Regions from separate parts of the Homo sapiens genome. Here region 1 is linked to region 2. The links are contacts of gene promoters, found by promoter capture Hi-C in human tissues and cell types (Jung and others, 2019). All regions are on one chromosome and are shown on one strand. The core of a region is centred on a gene start or on the middle of the fragment in contact, and the rest is flanking DNA. Distances in the headings are between cores, read along the strand shown.

The links. The method cuts DNA at HindIII sites, captures the fragments that hold promoters and counts their contacts. A contact is called where the count stands out against the background at its distance.
Region 1: a contact is called between a fragment that was not itself captured here and the fragment with the promoter of TMEM17 in region 2, in 1 of the 25 tissues and cell types used here (mesenchymal stem cells).

What each region holds. Positions count from the first base shown.
Region 1 is chr2:62,553,126-62,560,211 of GRCh38, forward strand. It overlaps the pseudogene PSAT1P2 and the pseudogene RSL24D1P2. Among named protein-coding and RNA genes, the nearest start is that of TMEM17, 50 kb to the left of the region's middle. The HindIII fragment of the contact is 3,285 bases long and covers 2,106-5,390 here.
Region 2 is chr2:62,503,934-62,511,368 of GRCh38, forward strand. TMEM17 (transmembrane protein 17) reads right to left here and starts at 2,262. Exons shown (of 4, transcript NM_198276.3): 1 at 2,097-2,262. The coding sequence starts at 2,196. It also overlaps the pseudogene RPL37P13. RefSeq lists silencers at 1,161-1,455, 1,793-1,962, 2,173-2,442. The HindIII fragment of the contact is 10,369 bases long and covers 1,396-7,435 here.

The DNA.
Region 1 (7,086 bases), core at 2,498-4,997, 51 kb after region 2:
CTCCTGTCACCACATAGTTGGCACACCTTCCTGCTTTCAGGCACTTTGGGTTTAAGGGGACAGCACTGAACTGGCCAGACCCACCTTCTTGCACAAAAATGACCTTGTACAGTAGTTGTTTGGAATGGCTAACAATTCCCACACCAGATTCTCTGTGGTATTAATAATTTTAGTGAAATTGGATGACCTGTTGTTCATTTCAAGAACACTAATGCCAATTCCTTTGTGGTCTAATAATTATTGTTCTATCTCTAACAACACTGAGCTCAGCACCTTGGTGGGCCCAGGGCCGAAGTTGACCACCTGCCTTCATGGTGTGATGGAGGGTAGGGAATCAGCTGGGGGGGGGACCTATTGTGTGGGCAGCATGCATCCCCCCACCTGCAGTGGCAGGAGCCTGTTGACCAGTGTCCATTCTCTATTAATATGTGACTCATGTTTTTAAACTCTTTGGAAATTATACTTTGACATCATACTGCTACTAATGAATTGTTTCTAACATGCTTATCTGATCATATTATTTCTCTGCTTAAATTCCTTAATGGCTGCGGGTAGCCTTAATAACTGATGCTCATACTCCTTAGTTTGACACTTACATGTCCTTCATGCCTACTTTTCTAGCCAAATCTCTTCCTATCCCCACACAAACACTATATTCCAACCACACGGCACTATTAAATAAGCAATGTGTTTTTCTTTTTGTACCTGCTGCCTTCTTCATCTAGACCTCCTCCTCCCATTCCCACTGCCCTTTCCCTCCTTTCCCTCCTTTCTGTCTTATTTATCCTTCAAGATTCAGCCCAGGTGTCATCTCCTCTGGAAGCCTCCCCAGATCACCCTTGCTGGATTAAGGTGTTTCTTTCCTCTGCTCTCCTTGTACTTACACACATCATGCTTTCTCCAATTCTTCATTTACTTGCCTGTTTCCGAGACTAAAAGCTAGAGTATAAGCTCTTGAGCTAGGAACTGAATTGACCATCTCTGAAGTACTTATATCCTGAATTTACTGTTACAAAAATGAACTATTTGCCTCATCTGTCTCTGTAAATAATCAATTTATATAGTAAAATTATGTTAAGTGTATTGACTGCCAGCGATGTACTAAACATAAGCAGAGGTACATGTAGCCTCTTCCCAATGGCCCTAGCTCCTAAATTTAACCATTATTAGTTAGGCTCTTTTCCTTGATGCATTCTTAATGTTATAGTCAATGAAAAAAAATAAAATTTCAATCATGCCGTTGTCTAATAGAGGTTGTTCCATCCTTCCCCATCAGATAGTCATTAATATTCTCAGAATTTTAACCATACTTAAAACTTGGCCTACAGTCAAACAGTATTTATGAACATAAAAGTGTTCCCATTTTCCCCAAGAAATATAAAGAAAATTATCACTTGCTGGATTTAAGCTAAGTCATCCCCTGGTAGATTAAGTGTTCATGGCCCTCTGATAATAGCATGTGCCACAGCCTCACCCAGTGTATTGTGTGGGCCCTTGACTGTACTTTCCTCTCAACTACTTCCAACTGTGGGTCATCCACTCAACAGACATTTCATTGTGTGATTTCCTATTGACAAATGTCTTTCTTGTGCTTTTTGTAATGCTGTTCTGTTTGGAGCAAGTTTGTTCCCTTTGGCAGAAAACACTATTCATGAGAAAAATTTTCTAATGAAAAAAATCCTAGACTTTGGTGCTGAGTATCAGCAGCATAAGGAAAAGCACAACTGTGTGAGGATTAGAACTTTATATGTGTAATTGACTTCAGGCTCCAACCAAAGACAGCATCAGGATAAATCCTCTTATGCTTTTACTTGCTCTGAACCACCTCTCAGATGTCCAGGTTCATGGTAAAATGTGTTTCATCTATGCCTGAAGTATCTTGAGGCTCTAAATCTTTGCAAGAGTATTTTATTCCCTCATCCATGTTAGAAAAACATCACCAGGAAGGCAAACATAGTTACCTGATGGTCTCATGTTAGACTTTTTGTTTATTTAGGTAAGCACCTCTTCCTACTAGTGGACTCATCTCAGAAGATTTCAAAAACAAAAGTCTCAAGTGACGTGGATATTTCCACCTGGTTGTAGTGGGATAGGCTGGATTGATGATTTTTCACACTAAGCTCTGAGTGTTCCAATGAGTTCCTTGGAAGTCTCTCAGGATCAACAGGGGTGAGTGGAAGGGGCTCCCCACTCCAGTTTCAATATGAGATACTCTATTTTTGTCCATTTTATATAAGTTGATCTCTAATCTGAATTTCATTTGAAAAAAGTGTTCCACTGCTTAAAGGTAAGTTTAAAAAGAGAACAGAACTAGAATACTTCTAAAAAAATTCAGTAGTTAGCTTACATTGCATACAAATAAAGTAGGCATGGGATATTGATATTGCTGTTAATTCAAAGCAGTAACACATTTAAAAATTCATTTATTCTACAAACATCTATTGAGTTATGATTGCTGCTAAATATGTTCAGTTTGAGATTCTACCCAGTATGATGGGATAGTGTTTTTCACAAGGTACATGGCTCTTTGCAGATGTCCAACACTCTATAAACTACATAGCTGGAAGGGAACCCGGGAATTATCCAGTCTACCCTCTTCCTTTTTAGTCAAAGAAACTAGAGTAGAAAGAAATTAAGTAAGTTGAACAATGATACTTCAGGCACCAAGTGGGCAGCTGAAGTAAATCCACATGCAGCCTGCCCTGTGTGTATAAAAATAATGCATCTTGGGGATGACAGAGGAAACTAAAATATGTTCTGTCTTATTTTATATTACAAGACTAACTCTGTTCATGTCAAGTTGCTAAACCATTAATACATAAAATTAAGAAAAAAAGGTACTTTTGTATGTTTGAGAAACATTGTGAGAACCAGTCTCTAAATATGAATTCTTGTCTTCCCTGTTTCACTGCACTATGTGCAAAAATTTGTTTCCAAAGAGATCAAGGAGGCATACACACTGATTTATCCTATGGTTGTTATGAAATTCTGCCTACCCTCAATCTTGCTCCAAGGTCCTTTCCACTGCAGCAGTCAAGCTCATCTACTATCCCAGTCCCACTAGTGCCAATACCTTGACCTTCCCATGAGACGTTAGGAATCTTTGTGGCTGCTGGGATAGGACTGGCAATGGAACAGGGAAAGACTGAGCCAGGCAAGACCATTAAATCCAGCTGTCCCTGGGCCAGGTTCGTGTAAGAAGAGAAATGGCTTTCTGTGGACAGATGCAAAGCTGAGCTGCCAAGAAGTTTGATGGGATGGTAGAGGAGGTAGTTCTCTAAATATTGGAAATCCCAAGCCTGTGGAAGGTGATGGCACATAAGGAAAGACCTCACACTTTGGAGCCGATGGACTTGGCTTTAGAATCCCAGCTGCACCTCTTACTGGCAATGAGACTTTGCAAATTTATTTTAACTTCTCTAAGCCCTCAGTTTCCATCTCTGTAAAATATGGTTGTAAAAATGCCATGAAATAATGTATGTAAGGAAATTCATTAGCACAGTGCCTAATAAATTTCAGTTTCTCTTTTCTTTGCCTTAAATTCCTTAGTTTTCTCCCATCTCAGGCTCTCTCTCTCTCTACGTCTCTATGAAACAGCTCTGCTAAAGAAAGATGCAAACTTTTGATAATCTACCCTTGAAGAAAAGCTCCTTGGAATTTGGACCTACAGTTTGAAAATTTGGCATGCTACACCAACACTACAGTGACAAGGGAAAAAATTGTTTGTGACAGAGAAAAATTACCTGCAATTTACAATACCCAGCTGCCTCCAAAGGAGGTTCTTTGCTGAACAGAGTGATGGGTATGAGGATGCAGGGTTAAGAGAGTTCACCAAATTGTTCTGCATTAGAAAAATCCTGTTTATTCATTTATTGTAGGAGGTAGGCAGGGGTGAGTCAGGGTGAATGGAAAATGAATGAGATCCAGAAGAACCAGGGAAAATGTGGAGCCTATGTGTGGCAAGATTGAAGGGTGGGAAAGTGGCTAAGGGGAACTTTCTGAGGAGACCCCAGATGTTAAACAGGAATTTTTATTAAAATTTGCTATGTGGTGCTCCATATAATCCTTTCATGCCTTTCTCCATAAAACCTACAATAATATCTATATTTCTTATCACTATGTTGAAGGAAATTGAGTTTGTTCTTGTTGAGAAGTACAAGAACAAATTGAAGTGTTAAGTCCCACTTCAAGGTGTTTGTGACCCCAGGACAGGGCTGCCTATGAGGCCCAGGAACATCTGGGTCCCATTACTTAAAAATCAGCAACCTCTCCTCTGGCTGAAGACATGCATTATTTTTAAAAAGCAGAAAGAAAGAACCAACACCTAGAAACCATTGTCTTGGGGCCCAGGACAATACGACTCAGCTCTGAAGGATAAAGGTAGAGTTTTACCAGCCAAAGGTACACAAAGTCCAAAAGACTGGCCTTAACTCAGTGATGTAGTTTGGATATTTGTCCCTGCCCAACTCTCATGTTGAATTCTAATTCCCAGTGCTGGAGGTGGGGCCTGGTGGGAGGTATTTGGTCATGGGGGTGGATTCCTCATGGCTTGGTTCTGTCTTCATGATAGTGAATGGGTTCGCAAGATATCTGGTCATTTAAAAGTGTGCGGCACTCCCCTACTCTTTCTTTTGCTCTTGCTCTGGCCATGTGACATGCCTGCTCCCCCTTCACCTTCCACCATGATTGTAAGCTTCCTGTGGTCTCTCTAGAAGTCGAGTAGATGCCAGCACCATGCTTCCTGTACAGCCTGTAGAACTGTGAGCAATTAAACCTCTTTTCTTTATAAATTGTCCACTCTCAGATATTTCTTTATAGCAACGCAAGAATGGCCTAACACACTCAGAACTTCTCTATGTACCTCACAAAATGGTTATAAGGCCCTCAACTCTTAATCTTTCTATTGTAAACATTGTTGATATTGAGAATATTTACCTGATGCTGCAAAATTTGTGTGAAAAGTCAAAGAATAAAAGTGTTTAATAAATCCCAAGGCAGAGACTTTCATTTGACTGAGAACTCTTTCCATGGCCAGACAATCAACAGCAGCAGCTTTCTGAGCTCATCTGTGAAGTAATGGGATAATGGATTAGATTTTCAGAGCTTCCAGCAGAGCTTGTGGTCACATTTAGCTCCATTGCTCTACTTCCCTCGTGATTCTCTTTGCTTTTTCACAGTGGAACAGGGCCTATTAGCAAGCAAGAAGTAGCTTTTAAGAAAAAGGTCACATTAAAAAAAAAGAAAGAAAAGAAAAAGGTCACAGAAAAACACATACCTTGAAAAACTGATAGGAGTAGAAATTGGATATGGAGAAAGATGACAGAGTCCAAGAGAGCATCCAGGAAGCTTTTAAGGTTTGAGAGTGTTACATAGTACACTACTTTGAAATAATAGCTATTCAAATGAATAAAGCTAAGGGAATTTGTTGTGGAAGCTTAACTGCTTCAAGTCATTGGTGAAACATCCAGAACAGCAACCATTTTAACTGGAAAATTGGTTTCTACAAAATGATCAACAGGTACAAATGAATGGATGATGCTCTATTGCAAGGACAACATGAAGATAGCCCTGAACATGCTACAGTGAGCTGCCACATAAACCAGCTCTGAGAATTGAGTATCATAATGTAGAGGAAAAAGTGTAAGATTTAGAATTAGATGGCCTAGATGAAAACCCAAGCTCTAATACTTGCTACTTGCCAAATAGTAGGTCACTCAGTTCTTCTGAACCTCAATATCATCTTCTATAAAGAGAGGTGTTGTACCTCACATGGTTGTTAAAAGTTCCAGTGAAGAAAAATGCAGATGAAAGCACTTTTCCATTTTTTTCTAATGATGAAAGTAATATATGTTCAATGCAAGCAACTTACAAAGCAGAAAAATGCTAAAGAAGAAACCATAATCTTACCAATCAAGGAGAACAGATAGTATTTCAATATGTCTTCTCAATTATTTTATATGTATGGGTGTGTGCACGCACACACACATACACACACAAATACACTTCTTTTTAAACAAAAATAACATCTTGAATGTGCATACTATTTTTGTAGCCTGCATTTCTACTTAGCAATAATATACTGCAAAATATTTCCCATGCCAATATTCTTCTACCAAGTGTTTAGGAAAACACTTAAAACTGTAAATGGCCATTCAAATATCAGTAGTTATTATGAAAATATGAATGAATGAATATTCTCATTTTTCCCTCTATACACACCAAACCTGAAGCACCCAAAAAGTCCCCCTGCATCATTTTATTGGCAGTTTTCTAAATAAGCTATAAGGTGAACAGAATCCTTTTCTTCTATCTTTTTTTGTTTCTTTCATGATCTTTTTGATAACTAGGAAGAAAAAAGCTACAAAATGAGATTGCATGCCAGCATATTTTACTTTAAATGCCTTTGATTTATTATCTTCAAATTTGCTTTTCCAACGATGCATGGATTCTGTTGAGATGTGCTACGTGTGCACCCTCATGCTTTCCATTAACATAAGTTACAAATAATTACCCTGAAGTCTGGACCCACTGCCCTTTTGTTTTCCATATCCAAGGTCTTTTGCTCTCATGAAGAATATATACACTTTTTCTATTTACACAAGTAGAAAGTAAATTGCAGCTCTGATTTGGGAGTGGCACAAAAATGATGAGTGGGCAAGTTAATTTGGTATGAGGATGTTTTGCCCATCTCAACTGACCTGGATTGAGATTTGGAGATGTGGGAACTCATTCCGACTCTCATTATTCATGCATCTTGAGCAAACCACTCACCTTTCCTCAACCTTGGTTTCTTCATCTGTAAAATGTCAGGAATAGAGTAGATAATCTCTGAACTTCTAAGATTTTAAGGCCACATTTGGAAAGTCAGGTGTGCATTCTGATGGAACACAGGAGATACAGTGGACAGATATGCCCCAGAAGAGCTCTAACCAGCTGCTTAAATAGTGAAAACTCCTGTGCCACTTTTTTTTAAACCTTTTAAATGGCTTTATGTGCAAATAGTGAACAGATGTTGTACCCATAAATTCTACTTTCCAAAAACAGGAGCTTTTTAAAAGAAAACCACATAATAACTTTTAAAAGGTG
Region 2 (7,435 bases), core at 1,012-3,511:
AGATTAAGAATTTGATTTTTAAAATTGAGCCCTACAAAATACATCCTAAATTTGACTAAATTCTTAAGAGCAGACACATATATTGAAATCAGTTGCTGTACACGTAAGATTTTAAAGGCTCTAAAATAAATGTCTTAAAAACATTATTTTCTCCTTTTCTCCATAGCTGAGTGTTTTTATCTGTCACTTAATTATTTTAAAATATAAGAAATAGTCATGGTCTCTCACAGCAAAATAGTTTCTTTTAGCTCCAAGAATATGCCTGATTATTATGATCTACTTTTGCTTGCAACTGTTTATTAAATTACCACTGATAAAGGAATGAATTCTTAAAATCTGTTAAATCTGAAGACAACTCACCAGCCTAGGATCTTTTCGATAGCAACAGTACAAAGCTGCGGACATGGTAATGACATAAACTTGTTATTACAGTACAAATAATCAAACCTACTTCCAATCCACAAAGAAGAAAATTTGGGAAAGAATAATAAATTGGGCAAGCTGAACATTTCAGTACCTTTGAGAAGAAACTGTAGTCAAATTTTGCAAAGAATGGTTTTCATGTTAGAAGTATTGTGTGTTAACATCTTAAAGGTTATGCTATGTCCATATTTCAGCAGATCAAACTTATAATCATGGAAATGAAAATCAAATTAATATGTAAATGAACCTTAAAAGCGTAAGACATAAACTTACTAAATTTTGCAAAAGTTCAAGTTGAGTTCTGTAAATGGAATTTAAATTAAAACATACAATATAAATCAGGGATAGGTAAACAACTGGCCAGCTGCCTGTTTTTGTACAGTCAATGAGCTAAAAATGTTTTTTCACGTTTAAATGGTTAAAAAAGTAATATTTTTTCCACACGTGAAATCCATATGAAATACAAATTTCAGTGTCCATAAAGTTTTATTGGAACACAGCCCTGCCTATTCAATAACTATTGTCAATGGCTGCCGTGGAGACCATATGGCCTACAAAGTCTAAAATATTTACTATCTGGTCCTTTTCAGAAAACGTCTTTTTACCTTGTATTATCAGACGTTAGTGCTCATTAAGCCTCATCCTTGGAACCAGAAACGTGAAAACCTATTTTTTTCACATTTTTCTCTGTACATCCTAAATCATAAAGGCCTACATTTGGGAAATAGGCAAGTGATCAAGGTGACAAAATGCAGCTTTGGGAACTGCCTTTACTTTTCTCTGTCCCTTTTAAAAATTCTCTAAAACCAAGCAGAGGAAAAGATTGATATTTCCCAGCAGAGTTGAATGATGAAAACCACATGGGTTTGGTTGACAGTGTGTTGTCTACCATCATGATGTAGGAGGAGGAAACTGTTCTGGAGGAAACTGTGTTATCACTTGACATCAAGTTAAAGGACGCAGAAGCATCATGGTATTTTGTTACCTTATGATAAGAGTTACATATAGGGGAGGAGGAGAAGGCAGGGAAGGGGTGAGTTTTGTTGAACGCCCGGCTAGTATGGCACATGCCAGTGGGAGTGGATGGTGGTTTGAAAGGACTCATTAACTTTTTTTTTTAATGTCTTCTACGAGAAAATGGCCTTGCTTAGGAACATACTTGTTCTGCTAGGAAAAGGGAAAAGGCAAATTTGTTCCCTGGGGTGGGGGTGGGGACGGGGGAGGTGGGATTGCTTGGGCTATTCCTCGTCATCCTGGACAGAAAAGCCGGGGCGGGCGCCGCAGAGGCAAAACAACTTGGGCCTTCGCTCTCGCGGCGCGCGGGGGACCAGCCTGTGCAGCAAGGGCGGCTTTTATCTTTTTATTTTTGGGGTTTCTCCGGGACAATGATGGGCCTTGCGCGGCACAGAGATCGGCCCCACGTCAGCTGCCGCGCTTGCAACAAGCTGGCCAGGGAGCACCACGCGGAGACCAGGCCCGGCCGGGGGCGGGAGGCCGCCAGCGCCTCAGCTCCCTGTCCGGCCCGGCCCCTCCTCCAAGGCGCTCTCCCGCACTGCGGAGAACTGGCTGAAGGCGACATCGCCATTTTAGGTACGGGCAAATTCTGGACGCTCCAAAATCCACGCCAAGCCCTCGGCAGGCCACACCCCCTGCACCGGGCCTCGGTCACTCACCCGGACCCTCATTGGACTCTGGACCGGTCCGATTGGAATCACTGAACACGGCCCGGCTGAAGTTTCCCAGCCGCTGGCGCACCGGATCCGGCAGCTCCATGCCTGGGCCTCAGTATCCCTCACCCCCTCAGACACGGGCTAGTCTGCGGGCGCTCCGAGGCTCCGTGGTTCCCACGGCAACCGGGCGGCGCGAGGCCGGCGGGACCCGGGAGCGCGCGGGGCTGCCCGGCTGGGCTGGGTCTCGTCCGGAGCCCGCGCAACCTGGAAGGGACCGGCGCGCTCAGAGCGCGTTCCAGGCCCAGGGAGCCGCGCGCCTCGGCCGTGTACAAAACGGCAGATCCCTTAGTTCTGCTTTGAGCTCGACCATCCTAAAAACAAACCTATACTAAGAAATGAGCTGGGGTTGGACTGCGATACAAGGAGCCCTCACATTTGCCAGTGGAACTGTAAATCGGTACAACCTTTCTGGAGAGAAATAGAGAACGAATGCAGAGCTTAAAGAATGTCTAGAGGTGTAGGGGTGTGTGTGAGAGAGAGAGACATCATGTGACTGATTATTTTTTAATAAGAAAACAGCAATGGGCAACTGATTAAATGTACTGGAGCACATACATTCAATGGAGTATGTTTCAGCTGCTTATAAAATGCTTGCAAAGGATATTGAATGGTATAGTTTAACTTTATGTAAAAATACAGCAGAAATAAAACTAAATGAGAATGAACCTAATTTAGCAAAATTTATGTGTATGAGTGGAGGGGAGGAGAGAGCGTGTGCACACTGGCTTGAAAAAAAGAACTGGAAAAAAGTCCAAAATGTTAACAGTCGTTTTCACTGGATAGTGGGATTGTAGGTGATTCAAAAATTTTTAAACGTCTTATTTTCTAGCTTTCTCTCAAGATATATTACTTAAAAAAAACTAAGTGTAATACACATACAGAAAAATTGTACACCTTTTGTAAGTAATATATATTACTTAAGAAATAAGTGTAATATATATACATAGACTGAAATCTGTATGTGTAATCAGCACCCTGTTCAAGAAACTTTACAATATTCCCAGAAACTCCCCCTTCCTATTTCCTTTCAGTCACTAAACCCACTCCTCACTCATAACTGACCTTTCCTGAATTCTAACAGCAAAGGAGAGTTTTGCCTTTTTTTTTTTAAATCAGAACATTTATTGTGTGACTAATCTAAAATTTTTTTTTTTTTTTTTTTTTTTAGACAGAATCTTGCTCTGTCACCCAGGCTGGAGTGCAATGGCACAATCTCGGCTCACTGCAACCTCCGCCTCCTGGGTTCAAGTGATTCTCCTGCCTCAGCCTACCGAGTGGCTGGGATTACAGGTGCCCGCCACCACACTCGGCTAATTATTGTATTTTTAGTAGAGACAGGGTTTCGCCATGTTGGCCAGGCTGGTCTCGAACTCCTGACCTCAAGTGATCCACCCGCCTTGGCCTCCCAAAGTGCTGGGATTACAGGTGTGAGCCACCGTACCTGGCCTGAAATTCTTAAGATGAACTGGATGCTGCAGCAGCTGTCCTCTTGGGTTTAGGTGGCATTCCTTTAAAAAATCCATGCCTTAACCTGCTGTACACAATTTTTAAGTGCCTCATTCGACCAGTCCCACTGGTATATTTTTTAGCCTCGGCACTCCAATTATACTTTATCTTGGCTTGGGAGGGTAGCCGCGTTTGCCACAGGCGGACTTTTGAAGGAGTTAGAGTCACAGGGCAGCACTAGCTGTGCATCTTATCGCACCACTTTCTAGATGATGACACTCCCTTTGTCATCTTGCTTCTGTTTTGCATATTTATATAAAAGCAATCATACTGTAAGTACTTTTTTAAAAAACTGGCTTTGTCTTCAACATTACTTTCATGAAATTCCTTCATGTCATTGAGTGTAGATTCTTTTGCCTTGCTCTTTGTGATCATACCACAATAAGCTTACTCATTCTACTGTTGATGAGTGTCTGTATTTTCTAGTTTGGAGCTGTTGTGTATAGTGCTGCTTTGGGGAAAAGATGCCTCTTGGTGAACATATGCATGCATTTTTGTTGAGTGTATATCGAGAGTGGAATTGCCGTGTCATAGGATACGAAAGACCCAGCTTTAGTAGAGGCTGCCTACAGTTTTCCAAAGTGATCAAACCAATTTCTGCTGCCTCCAGCAATGTGTGAATATTTCCATTACTCCATATACTTCACCAACACTTGTTATTTCTTATCCTTTCCTTTTAGCCCTTCTGATGGGTGTGTGGTAAAAGTATTATTTTTACAATCAAAAGGAAAATTACACATTTATATAAATGCAAGAAGAAGATATGGGTGGAAATAAGTTCATGACTAGAATTTTAAAATAATTACACAAACGTTTATTGCATTCCTACTGCTTATTTGGATATCGTGCTAGGCTAATTAGGGATATGGTCCCTCCTCATCAAGAAGCACAGCTCAGTGAAAGAGAGACATGGAAACAAGTAAGTGCAAACACTGTTATTAGACGTGCTCTATTAAAGGACCACGTCTTTTAATTATTAAAGAAGCAATTAATTCGGGTTGAGGATGTCAGGGAAAAGCTGGTTAACTTCTGCTTCATTTCAAGATGGAGTTCAGACCTGAGAATCTCCAAAAAGGCTTCTAGGACCTTCCTGAAATAGCTTAGGTGCTCTCTTCTGTGTTTCCCAAAGCATCTTCCTCTTGTTTCTTTGGTCACAGTGCTGGTCACTCTATACTAAAATTGTCTGTTTATGTGTCTGTGTCTCTTGCTAGTCCTCAAGCTCTTAGAGGTCAAGAATGGACTTTCATCTTTATATCCCCAACACTAGCACAGTGTGGTACCTGGCCATGAGTAGGAGCTGGATGACTGTTGAGTGAGTAAAAGGAAGAAAAAGCCTAATGACCACTCTCTTGTCTTCCCCTTCTAGTTCAAGGACTTAGCTAGCCCTTTAAAAGGTTCACTTTGTAAAATGGTGAATTGGTGTATTAAAACATAGTGAATCATAACAATTTAAAAAACCTTAGCAACAGAGAATCACTTTTCATTTATCAAATGAACCGAGATTTTTTATAAACGGAACAGTGAAGCAGGAGGCCTCAGGCTCAGCTGTTGAATTATAATTTGGCCAACCGCATTGAGACAAGTAATCGGCAATGTATAGAAATAGCCTTTAAAACGTTCCTGCCTCCTTTAACACGATAAAATCTTAAGGCGTGCTCTATTAAAGGAAAATAATCATAGAAACAAAGTTTTATACACCAAATGCTTCTCCAACATTATTGATAATTGTTTAGAAAAGAGGGGAATGGGCATTTGAAGTGCCCAACCACAGGGCCTCATTAAGCAGATTACGATATTTATGGCAAGGTGTTGGGCTGCAGTAGAAAGAATGTCCTTGGAAGCTGAGAGGGCAGGGTTCAAATACCCTAAAATTCTCGATGTACCACTTAACAGCTGTGTGACTGATTTCAGATACTCGTTTTGTAAAGTAAAAATAATGATATCTTACTGTTGTGGTTGATGTGATATTATATCATTAAGGCTCTCTATACATGATAGCTACCATTTACACATCAATTAAAATGAAGTTTATGAAGAAACAACACCTAGAGTGGAGTCAAATAATGCTGGTATTTAATTTTGTAAATTCAACTGGACCTGCTAGGTAATACCTCTGTTGCTTTCCTAATAAAGACAGTGGAGGCAGTTAAGCATTAAAGCACTCCATTATGTTAACCAAAAACCTATGTGAATTCTTATCAAAAACCTAAGTGAATTATTTTAAAGATATTTTCCCCTGGCATTGAAAAAAGATGCAAGATACCTTCTTCAGATTGTAATTATGTTATCAAAATCCTGGAGGAAAAAAAGTGATAGAATTATGGGTATTTTTCCTTCTAATTTTATTATTCAAATTTCCTATATGAGCGTACATTTTCTAGTTAGAAAAAAATCTTGTTAAAAATAAATTGAGAGGAAGAGGCAATGATGATGCAAAAACATTAGAGAAGATAATTTGAGAGGAAAAAAAATGTGGTTTGGAATGAGTCCTGCCATTATTGATGTATCATAAATGGTCCAAGGGGCTCAAAAAAACTTTCCAAATGTTATCTTATTAGTTGATACTCCCAATATTTATAGGCAATTACATTAGAAATACTAAAGGAGATCCTTCAGTGTTTCACTAATGTGATTGCCTATACAGGTGGGCATCCACATTCATGAAAAATGAAGAATTGTATGATTTGGGTTTCCCATCTTCTAGACCTACTACTTACTTAGGATCTAAAGAAAGAAGTATGGGCCAGGCACGGTGGCTCACACCTGTAATCCCAACACTTTGGGAGGCCAAGGCGGGCTGATCACAAGGTCAGGAGTCCGAAACTAACCTGCCCAATATGGTGAAACCCCGTGTATACTAAAAATACAAAAATTAGCTGGGTGTGGTGGCGGGCCCCTGCAGTCCCAGCTACTCGGGAGGCTGAGGCAGGAGAATTGCTTGAACCTGGGAGACAGAGGTTGCAGTGAGCTGAGATCGTGCCACTGTACTCCAGCCTGGGCGACAGAGTGAGACTCCGTCTCAAGAAAAAAAAAAAGAAGTACGGAATCTCTGTACTTAAAATCACGGGAATCATTTTAGGTTAATGAATAGTCCCATAAAGTTTAAACTGCTTAGTTCTTATACCAGTGTTGATGTTCAGAGTAATAGCTGTTTCTGCAATAGTTGTTTAATGTATTTCTTGGGGTTTAATTACATTTATTGTTTGCTTATTTGTTTTCACAAACATTTTGAGACTGATGCAATGATTAGCTTCCCTTTGATAAGGGACCATGTTGTCTGGTAATAATGTATTACCTTATATGACAAGAAACTGATTTGGGGAGTTATTTATTTATTGAGATAGGGTCTCACTCTGCTGCCCAGGCTGGAGTGTAGTGATGCAGTCATAGCTCACTGTAGCCTCAATCTCCTGGGCTCAAGTGATCCATCCACTTCAGTCTCTCTAATAGCTGGGACTACCGGGGTATACCACTGCACCCAGCTAACTTTTTTTTATTTTGTAGTGACAAGGTCTCCCTATGTTGCCTAGGCTGGTCTCCAACTCCTGGGCTCAAATGATCCTCCCACTTTGGCCTCCCAAAGTGCCAGGATTACAGGCATGAGCCACCACACCTGACCTCAGTTATTTAAATTACTCCTTGGCATAAAAAAAAATTCTTTCCACTTGATACTAATAAAGAGTTTAGAAATATTTTTAAGTAAGTATGTCATTCAGTTTATTGCTTTAAAATGAACTGAGAGACATTTCTCAGAATCTAGATAAATTTAAAAGATA